Regions from separate parts of the Homo sapiens genome. Here region 2 is linked to region 1. Evidence: promoter capture Hi-C in human tissues and cell types (Jung and others, 2019). All regions are on one chromosome and are shown on one strand. The core of a region is centred on a gene start or on the middle of the fragment in contact, and the rest is flanking DNA. Distances in the headings are between cores, read along the strand shown. Region 1 holds the start of MIXL1 (Mix paired-like homeobox). Region 2 overlaps ACBD3 (acyl-CoA binding domain containing 3).

Region 1 (4,444 bases), core at 1,191-3,690:
TATTGCCAAGGATAGGGCTCTTCCCATTTTCCTATTGAAAAACTGAATATAGAAGAATTAGCAAATGGATATGTGATATACATATCCATTGTATGCCTGCAGCAGGGTAACTGAGTCAGGAATCTAGAACTTGGATATAGTGAAAACCATTTATATGTTTATAAGTGTCTGTCAAAGAAGAGAAGTAGCAAATCATTTTAATTTCAAGTGCTTTTGTAGAAACTCAATATGACTTCTATCTTTCCAACCCTAGTCAATGAAAATCCCAAGTGAAATGGGAAATCCACTCGCATGGAGAAGTAATTTCTTTTTTCTTTTTCTTTTCTTTTTTTTTTTTTTGAGATGGAGTCTCAGTCAGTCACCCAGGCTGGAGTGCAGTGGCGCGATCTTGGCTCACTGCAACCTCTGCCTCCCGGGTTCAAGCAATTCTCCTGCCTCAGCCTCCTGAGTAGCTGGGATTACAGGCTTGTGCCACCACGCCCGGCTAATAATTGTTTATTTATTTATTTATTTATTTATTTATTTATTTATTTATTTTGAGACGAAGTCTCGCTCTGTCACCCAGGCTGGAGTGCAGTGGCATGATCTCAGCTCACTGCAAGCTCCACCTCCCAGGTTCACGCCATTCTCCTGCCTCAGCCTCCTGAGTAGCTGGGACTACAGGTGCCCACCACCATGCTCGGCTAATTTTTTTTTTTGTATTTTTAGTAGAGACGGGGTTTCACCGTGTTAGCCAGGATAGTCTCGATCTCCTGACCTGGTGATCCGCCCGCCTCAGCCTCCCAAAGTGCTGGGATTACAGGCATGAGCCACTGCACCTGGCCAATGGATGTTGGCTGTTTTGGAGATGCTGGGGAATTAACTTTTTTTTTTTTTTCTGAGTCAGAGTTTCACTCTTGTTGCCCAGGCTGGAGTGCAATGGCACAATCTTGGCTCACTGCAACCAAGAGAAGAGGGGGAAAGAAAGGAGAAGGGGTGGAAGGAAGATGGAAGAGCAGGAGGTAAGTATATCAGCTGCCCAGAAGGGCCTCAGGGGCTACACAGGACACAGTCCCTGCCAACCCCACCCCTTACCACAGCCAGGAGAGAATCAAGCCCAAAATTCTTCTCTGCAGCAGCTCCAAGAAAACTTTCCGCTTTGCCACCTGGAATGTCCACCCAGGATAAAAAGATCCAAGCTCTTCTGAGACTGTCTTTTGACCTTCTAGAATGCAGAGACAGGACGGGGATTGTGCCCTGAAAGATCCTCCCAATAAAGATCTCCCTTTGAGTCGACCACAGTGAGTGATCCCGGTGAAATCAGCGCTCAGGTGCTGGGGGCAAAAAGACCTGGGCCTCTGTGTTCCTCTCTTGAGTTCTTGCACTGTGGTGGGGCAGTTCCCATAGTGGACCATGGGTTTCTCTTTCAATAAGGAGAGCTCAGTGACATCCAATTCGACAGACATTCACTAAGGGGCCTAGCACCGCGCCTCACGCAGAATAGGTGTACAAAGCAGACACTCAATAAACTCAGAAAGGGAGAGGTGGGTTCCTGCTTGCTAAGACTTTATATCTAGCAGATAGAGAAACCATAACCATAGCACAAAGTAGAGAAAATGGGAGCTTTCAGAGCCCCAAGGGGCAGAGGAAAGAATGATGATTCAGGGCGCGTGGAAACTTCATGAGGTGGCTTTCATCTCCTCCCATCCAATAGACGGGTCTTAAGCATTGTTGAGTATCTCCAGAAAGGCCAAACTGCGCCGTATCCTCTGCTAATGGGGCACGTTGCCAACCCCGCCCTACCTAGGGTATCTTTATTGGTGGGCCCATGGACATTCCAGCCAGACCCCCCCACTCCCCCCACCCATTTAATCAGGAGGAATGTGCTGCCCCCTGGATCCTTTATCTTCACCCCCCTCCCCGCTTGGATTCAGGATGTGTTAGGGAGGCTTGCAGAAGACAGGGGCCGGGCTGTTTGACCAACCTGGTACAGGGTCTAGCACATAGCAGGGGTGGTAAATAAATAGCTTTGATGAGGACAGACGGGACTAGGGCAAGGCTCAAGGCCCAGGCCATGTAAGGCACAGGCCAGGCAAGGTGCTTCCGCCGCTCTTAACGGGGATTTGACCCGGAGAAGAGAGTTCTGTCGCCTGCGGCCCGCGCACCCGGGCCCCTCCGGGCTGCCCCTCCCAGGCAAATAGTCCTTCGGGGATGTGGATTGCGCCGTCCGGGCGGGTGGGCGGGGAAGAACACGGAGGGGGCCGGGACCCAAGTTCACGCCTCCCTCCTGCATCCCGCAGCCGGCGGAAGCGATTATTCCCCGGCGTCTGGCGGGGCCGGGGGCGGGCTCGCACCCGGAGGAGACACGGGTCTCCCCGAGCCCACCTTTGATCGCACCGCCCCGCCTTCCCAGCCCCTGGCCCGGGAGGGTATAAGTGCGGCCCGCGCCCCTCCGAGCGGCGCGCTGGGTTCCGGAGCGATGGCCACAGCCGAGTCCCGTGCGCTCCAGTTTGCCGAGGGCGCCGCGTTTCCAGCGTACCGGGCCCCCCACGCCGGCGGGGCGCTCCTGCCGCCCCCGAGCCCTGCGGCAGCCCTGCTCCCTGCGCCGCCCGCGGGCCCCGGCCCAGCGACCTTTGCGGGCTTCCTCGGCCGGGACCCCGGGCCGGCCCCGCCGCCCCCCGCCAGCCTGGGCTCGCCTGCGCCCCCCAAAGGCGCGGCCGCCCCGTCGGCGTCGCAGCGCCGCAAGCGCACGTCTTTCAGCGCCGAACAGCTGCAGCTGCTGGAGCTCGTCTTCCGCCGGACCCGGTACCCCGACATCCACTTGCGCGAGCGCCTGGCCGCGCTCACCCTGCTCCCCGAGTCCAGGATCCAGGTGAGGGCCCGCTGCGTTCGCAAGTGCGCGCTGGAGCGGAGGCGCTGCGGACTCTAGGTCTGGACTGCGGGCTCCTGAGGCCACACCCGGGACGTTGCAGGCACGGTGCTTCCCCTGAGGCTCTGCGTACTAGACTGAAATAGGGGGTGATATCGGCACCTGCTGCATAGGGTGGTTGCGAGGCCTGTGTGAAATAATTTAGGCCTGCACTGAACGATTTCTCTCATTATTAAATATAATAAGGGCTCCTAGGAGGCTAGCCGGTCCCCTGAAATGGCCAGAAAGTAATTCCCAGCAGGAAGATAAGAAGTTTTACACTTTTTCTTTATCCGGGAAGAAGACACAGATGAGGGGCAGTTGGGGTTTTCCTCTGGCTTTGAGCGTGAGAATGGTAGCTGAAAACGGGGAAGGCTGGCTCGCCAAGTTACCCCCATGCTACTTTCTTGGCAAGTGTTACGTTTTGGGATTAGATTTGAAAGGATGTAGCGAATTGAGATAAAGCGAGAAGCACCTGGAGCTTGTTTTCAGTTTGAAAAATCTAGTGCAAGGTGTGTTTATTTTTATTTATTTAGTTTTTATTTGAGATGGAGTTTTAACTCTTGTTGCCCAGGCTGGAGTGCAATGGCGCGATCTGGGCTCACTGCAACCTCCGCCTCCCAGGTTCAAGTGATTCTCCTGCCTCAGCCTCCCGAGTAGCTGAGATTACAGGCGCCAGCCACCACGCCCAGCTAATTTTTGTATTTTTAGTAGAGACGGGGTTTTACCATGTTGGTCAGGCTGGTTTCGAACTCCTGACCTCAGGTGATCCACCCGCCTCAAAGTGCTGGGATTACAGGCGTGAGCCACCGCGCCCGGCCGTGTTTATTATCTAAAGTAATTTAGATCAGAATCTTAGAGTTGGTAAGGAGAAGCCTGCCTTTTTGTCTGTCTGTAGCCCCGTGGTCGGTGTCCAAGCGCAGTTTTAAGTAGCAGCCCTCATTTAAACACTGGGAGAGTGGACTTGTTTTCTCTGCACCCCTGGCGGTCATACAGCTGTCAGTCTCAACAGCTGGCATGAGCAAAATACCTCCTTGATTAGTTTGACAAGGGAGTGCAGACCTTAAAAAACAGGTTTTCTTCATAATTTAATGCAGTTTTTTTCTAAGAATTCTAAGTGCTTCCATTTTTGTGACCCCATTTTTCATGAAAATTTCTCTAACTAAAGAGTAGATAGAACTAGGCATTATTCCAATGTTTCCATCTGGGAATGGGGAGGCAAGGAAAGCCAGGTGTTCTGAACTTCTAATCGTCAACCCAAGTGCTTTCTGAAGACAAGGCTCTGGAGAGGAAGCCAGGGGATGTTAAACTGGAACTTACCAGTATGAACTGTGAACATAATGTTAGCATAAAAAACTCCAACCAAAAGCAGCTTTTATTTTCTCCCCTCTTCCAGGTATGGTTCCAGAACAGGCGTGCCAAGTCTCGGCGTCAGAGTGGGAAATCCTTCCAACCTTTGGCTAGGCCGGAGATTATCCTCAACCACTGTGCTCCTGGAACTGAAACGAAATGTCTGAAGCCCCAGCTGCCTCTTGAGGTAGATGTGAACTGCCTGCC
Region 2 (4,444 bases), core at 711-3,210, 51 kb before region 1:
TTTGATAATGTGAACTAGGCGCAGGGTCTTTGAGGGATGGTAAGTAAACAATTTTTTTTTTTTCTGAGACAGACTCTCGCTCTGTCACCCAGGCTGGAGTGTGGTGGCACAATCTCGGCTCACTGCAACCTCCATCTCCCTGGTTCAAGGGATTCTCCTGCCTCAGCCTCCCAAGTAGCTGGAATTACAGGCATGCACCACCACGCCTGGCTACTTTTTGTACTTTTTAGTAGGGACGAGGTTTTACCATGTTGGCCAGGCTGGTCTCGAACTCCTGATCTCAGGTGATCCACCCACCTTGGCCTCCCAAAATGCTGGGATTACAGGTGTGAGCCACTGTGCCTGGTCGAGTTTCAGTACTTTTGGATGTTATTTTAACGTCTGCCCTTTTTACACCTGACAGAATTAAAAATACAGTGCAAACTTAAAAAGTATATTTATTTATTTATTATTTTGAGATGAAGTCTTGCTCTGTTACCCACGATGGAGCACAGTGGCGTGATCTCGGCTCACTGCAACTTCTGCCTCCCGGGCTCAAGCGATTCTTGTGCCTCAGCCTCCTGAGTAGCTGGGACTACAGGTGTGCGCCACCGTGCCTGGCTAATTTTTGTATTTTTCACAGAGATGGGGTTTCACCATGTTGGGTTGGCCAGGCTGGTCCTGAACTCCTGACCTCAGGTGATCTGCCCGCCTCAGCTTCCCAAAATGCTGGGATTACAGACGTGAGCCACCGTGCCTGGCCAATAAATGTGTTTTTAAAAAGAAGAATATGTGGCCACACACGGTGGCTCATGCCTGTAATCCCGGCACTTTGGGAGGCTGGGGCGGGTGGATCACCTGAGGTCAGGAGTTTGAGATCAGCCTGACTAACATGAGAAACCCCGTCTCTAATGAAAATACAAAAATTAGCCAGGCATGCTGGCGCACACCTATAATCCCAGCTACTTGGGACGCTAAAGCAGGAGAGTTGCTTGAACCTGGGAGGCGGAGGTTGCAGTGAGCCGAGATCGTGCCACTGTACTCCAGCCTGGGAAACAAGAGCAAAACTCCATCTCAAAAAAAAAAAAAAAGAGGAATACATTTTCAGTGCTAGTCCTGGTCAGGCAAACAGATTCGCTGACCTCTGTGAACTTCAGTGCTTAAGCCTACGTTTTTGTTCACAGGCCCTCATCAAAAAACACGCCCAGCAAATCTCACAAAAGAAATTGACTTTATGGGTCAACTACTGTGAGAATGAACAAAACAGTATATCCATTCTTGTGAACTGTCCTTGCATTCCCATTTACTCTTTTATGCACGTACTAGTTTTAAGAATTGCTCTATCGCCAGCTGCAGTGGCATGCACCTGTAGTCCCACCTACTTGGGAGGCTGAGACAGGAAGATCATTTGAATCCACAAGTTAGAATCTAGCCTGGGCAATCCATTAAGATTCTGACTCTGAAGAAAATAAAAATAATTGCTCTATAATCCTTTCTTTAAATCTTACTACTGAATCTCCAAATTAATAATTTTTCTAGATGAGAGCCAAATTTGTCTCAAAAAAAAAATCAAGAAAACAAACAGCCAGGTGCAGTGGCTCACACCTCTAATCCCAACACTTTGGGAGGCTGAAGGGGGAGGATCACTTGAGTCCAGGAGTTTGAGACCAACCTGGGCAACACTGCAAGACCCCATCTCTACAAAAAACTAAAAAACAGCTGGGTGTGGTGGCATACAGCTGGGTGCGGCGGCATGCGCCTGAAGTCCAGGCTTCTCTGGAGGCTCAGGATTGCTTGAGCCTGAAGGTCGAGGCTCCAATAGACTGTGAAAGCACCACCGAACTCCAGCCTGGGTGACAGATGAAGACCCTGTCTAAACAACAAACAAACAAACAAACAAACCCAGCTGGGCCTGGTGGCTCATGCCTATAATCCTGGCACTTTGGAAAGCTAGGGCAGGTGGATTGCTTGAGCCCAGGAGTTTGAGACCAGCCTGCGAAACAAAGTGAAATCCTGTCTCCACACACATACAAAAAACCAAAATTTAGCTGGGCATGGTGGCGTGTACCACAGTCCCAGCTACTAGGGTGGCCAAGATGAGAGGATCCCTTGATCTTGGGCATTGAGACTGTGGTGAGCCATGATGGTGCCACTGCACTCCAGCCTGAGTGACAGAGTGAGACCCTGTCTCAAAACGAAACAAAATTCAAAATGTTAATACTAATAATTATTTTTGAAAGACTGTATTACAAATTAATTTTATTTTATTTATTCATTTTTTATTTCCCCAAATTTTCAGTAAGCATATGTACTTTGTAATCAAACACACATACACATTATCTTTTTTAACACACATTTTTAAAGTCGAAGCAATGTATTTTCAGCCTTTGGGATGAGGTTAAGAGATTATTCTCCCAAGGAATATACAAAACCCAGGAGGCTGTGCTAACCCCAACCACTTTCGGTATAGCACAGTTCACACAGTACTGAAGTTCTAAGCTTCAGAAAAAAAACACAGAAAAATAAAAATCCTTCACAATCTATATTGCTATGCAGACTATTAGTATTACACAAAAGGTTACAGCTCTCTTACTCTTCAGGTGGCTCTGGTTGACACATCACAAGAGTTTAGTATTTTAAATCAGGTGAGAATAATTTTCTTCTTTTTTTTTCTTTTCTTTTTTTTTTTTTTTTTTTTTGAGACAGAGTCTCACTCTGTTGCCCAGGCTGGAGTGCAGTGGGATGATCTCGACTCACTGCAACTTCCACCTCCCAGGTTCAAGTGATTCTCCTGCCTCAGCCTCCCCAGTAGCTGGGATTACAGAAGTGTGCACTACCACACCTAGCTAATTTTTTTATTTTTAGTACAGAAGGGGTTTCACCATGTTGACCGGGCTAGTCTCAAAACTCCTGACATCAGGTAATCCGCCTGCCTCAGAGCCCCGAAGACCTGGGATTACAGTGTGAGCCACCGCACCCAACCAAGAATAATTTTCTTCTAAATTATTTCTGGTACCATAAACGTTAAATGTAGTTAGCAGGAAAATAATAAGTACCACTAACTGCACAGACACAAAAAGCCTTGTAGAAACTCAAAAATCTTTAACCAGGGCCCTATTCCTAAAGGAAAGTTCTATTTCAGTCCTCCCAGAAGGGAACACAAGCATCATCCTCGGCTCTTGCACTCATTAATTATTAATATTACAAAGTTATTTAATTCAATCAATTTTGGAATTCTGCTTTCTATGGCAAACAAAACCAAACACAAATTCTGCTTGGAAAAGAAAACATGCAGATAAACCTCTAATTAAACATGATAGATTGAACACAGACAATTACCTCTGATCCTTAATGAAACCACACTAAAAGGAATAAGGAAGCCAATTTAGAGAACCCTGGAAAAAGCCAGGTGTGGTGGCTCACGCCTGTAATCCCAGCACTTTGGGAGGCCAGGGCAAGTGGATCACCTGAGGTCAGGAGTTCGAGACCAGCCTGACCAACATGGTGAAACCCAGTCTCCACTAAAAATGCAAAAATTAGCTGGGAGTGGTGGTGCACGCCCTGTAATCCTAGCTACTTGGGAGGCTGAGGCAGGAGAATCGCCTGAACCCGGGAGGCAGACGTTGCAGTGAGCCAAGATCGTGCCACTGTACTCCAGCCTGGGTGACAGAGCCAGACTCCGTCTCAAAAACAAACAAACAAAAAAAGAATACTGAATGCTAGAAAACAATGAATGGGAAGGTGGGCACAGTGGCTCAGGCCTGTAATCCCAGCACTTTGGGAGGCCAAGGCAGGCAGATCACCTGAGGTCAGGACCAGCCTGACCAACATGGTGAAACCCCATCTCTACTAAAAATAAAAAAAAAATAGCCCGGCATGGTGGCATGCACCTGTAATCCCAGCTACTCACGAGGCTGAGACAGGAGAATCGCTTGAACCTGGGAGGCGGAGGTTACAGTGAGCCGAAATTGCCACTGTGTTCCAGCCTGACAAAAGAGTGAGACTCCATCTCAAAAAAAAAAAAAAAAAAAAGAAAGAAAAAGAAAAAAGAAAGCAATGAATGGAATAATGCCTTCAAAATTCCGGAAGGAAATTATTTCCAATCTAGACTTTTATGCCCAATCAAATAAATCAAAAGTGACAGTAAAACACATTTTTGGAAAGGCATGGTCTCATGCACTCTTTTCACAAGAAGATATTAAGGGGTGTGCATTTCCAAAGTAATGGAATAAATAAAAACAACAACAAAGGAAAATAAGTGATTCAGGGAAAACAAAATCTAACCACAATAGGAAAAGACGAAGGTAATTTCCAGGATGACAGTTGGGCAGCCGACTTAACTAAGTCTTACCACAAACACTAAGACTGATTCAAGAATTTAAGGACATTTAAGATAGATGTCTTTATAAAAAGGTTTGCACAAGAACAAAAATGTAATCAAAGTGTATCATCTGTTTCAGCAATG

The links. The method cuts DNA at HindIII sites, captures the fragments that hold promoters and counts their contacts. A contact is called where the count stands out against the background at its distance.
Region 2: a fragment that was not itself captured here is called in contact with the fragment with the promoter of MIXL1 in region 1 in 2 of the 25 tissues and cell types used here (H1 embryonic stem cells and mesendoderm cells).

Annotation. Positions count from the first base shown.
Region 1 is chr1:226,221,224-226,225,667 of GRCh38, forward strand. It overlaps MIXL1 (Mix paired-like homeobox), which reads left to right and starts at 2,441. Exons shown (of 2, transcript NM_031944.3): 1 at 2,441-2,851; 2 at 4,284-4,444. The coding sequence starts at 2,459. It overlaps LOC124904528 (a long non-coding RNA gene), which reads left to right and starts at 916. Exons shown (of 2, transcript XR_007066907.1): 1 at 916-1,001; 2 at 1,116-1,275. RefSeq lists an enhancer at 2,760-2,819 and a silencer at 2,865-3,159. The HindIII fragment of the contact is 15,954 bases long and covers 1-4,444 here.
Region 2 is chr1:226,171,101-226,175,544 of GRCh38, forward strand. All of the region lies in intron 1 of ACBD3 (acyl-CoA binding domain containing 3), which reads right to left. Among named protein-coding and RNA genes, the nearest start is that of ACBD3, 13 kb to the right of the region's middle. The HindIII fragment of the contact is 6,469 bases long and covers 1-4,444 here.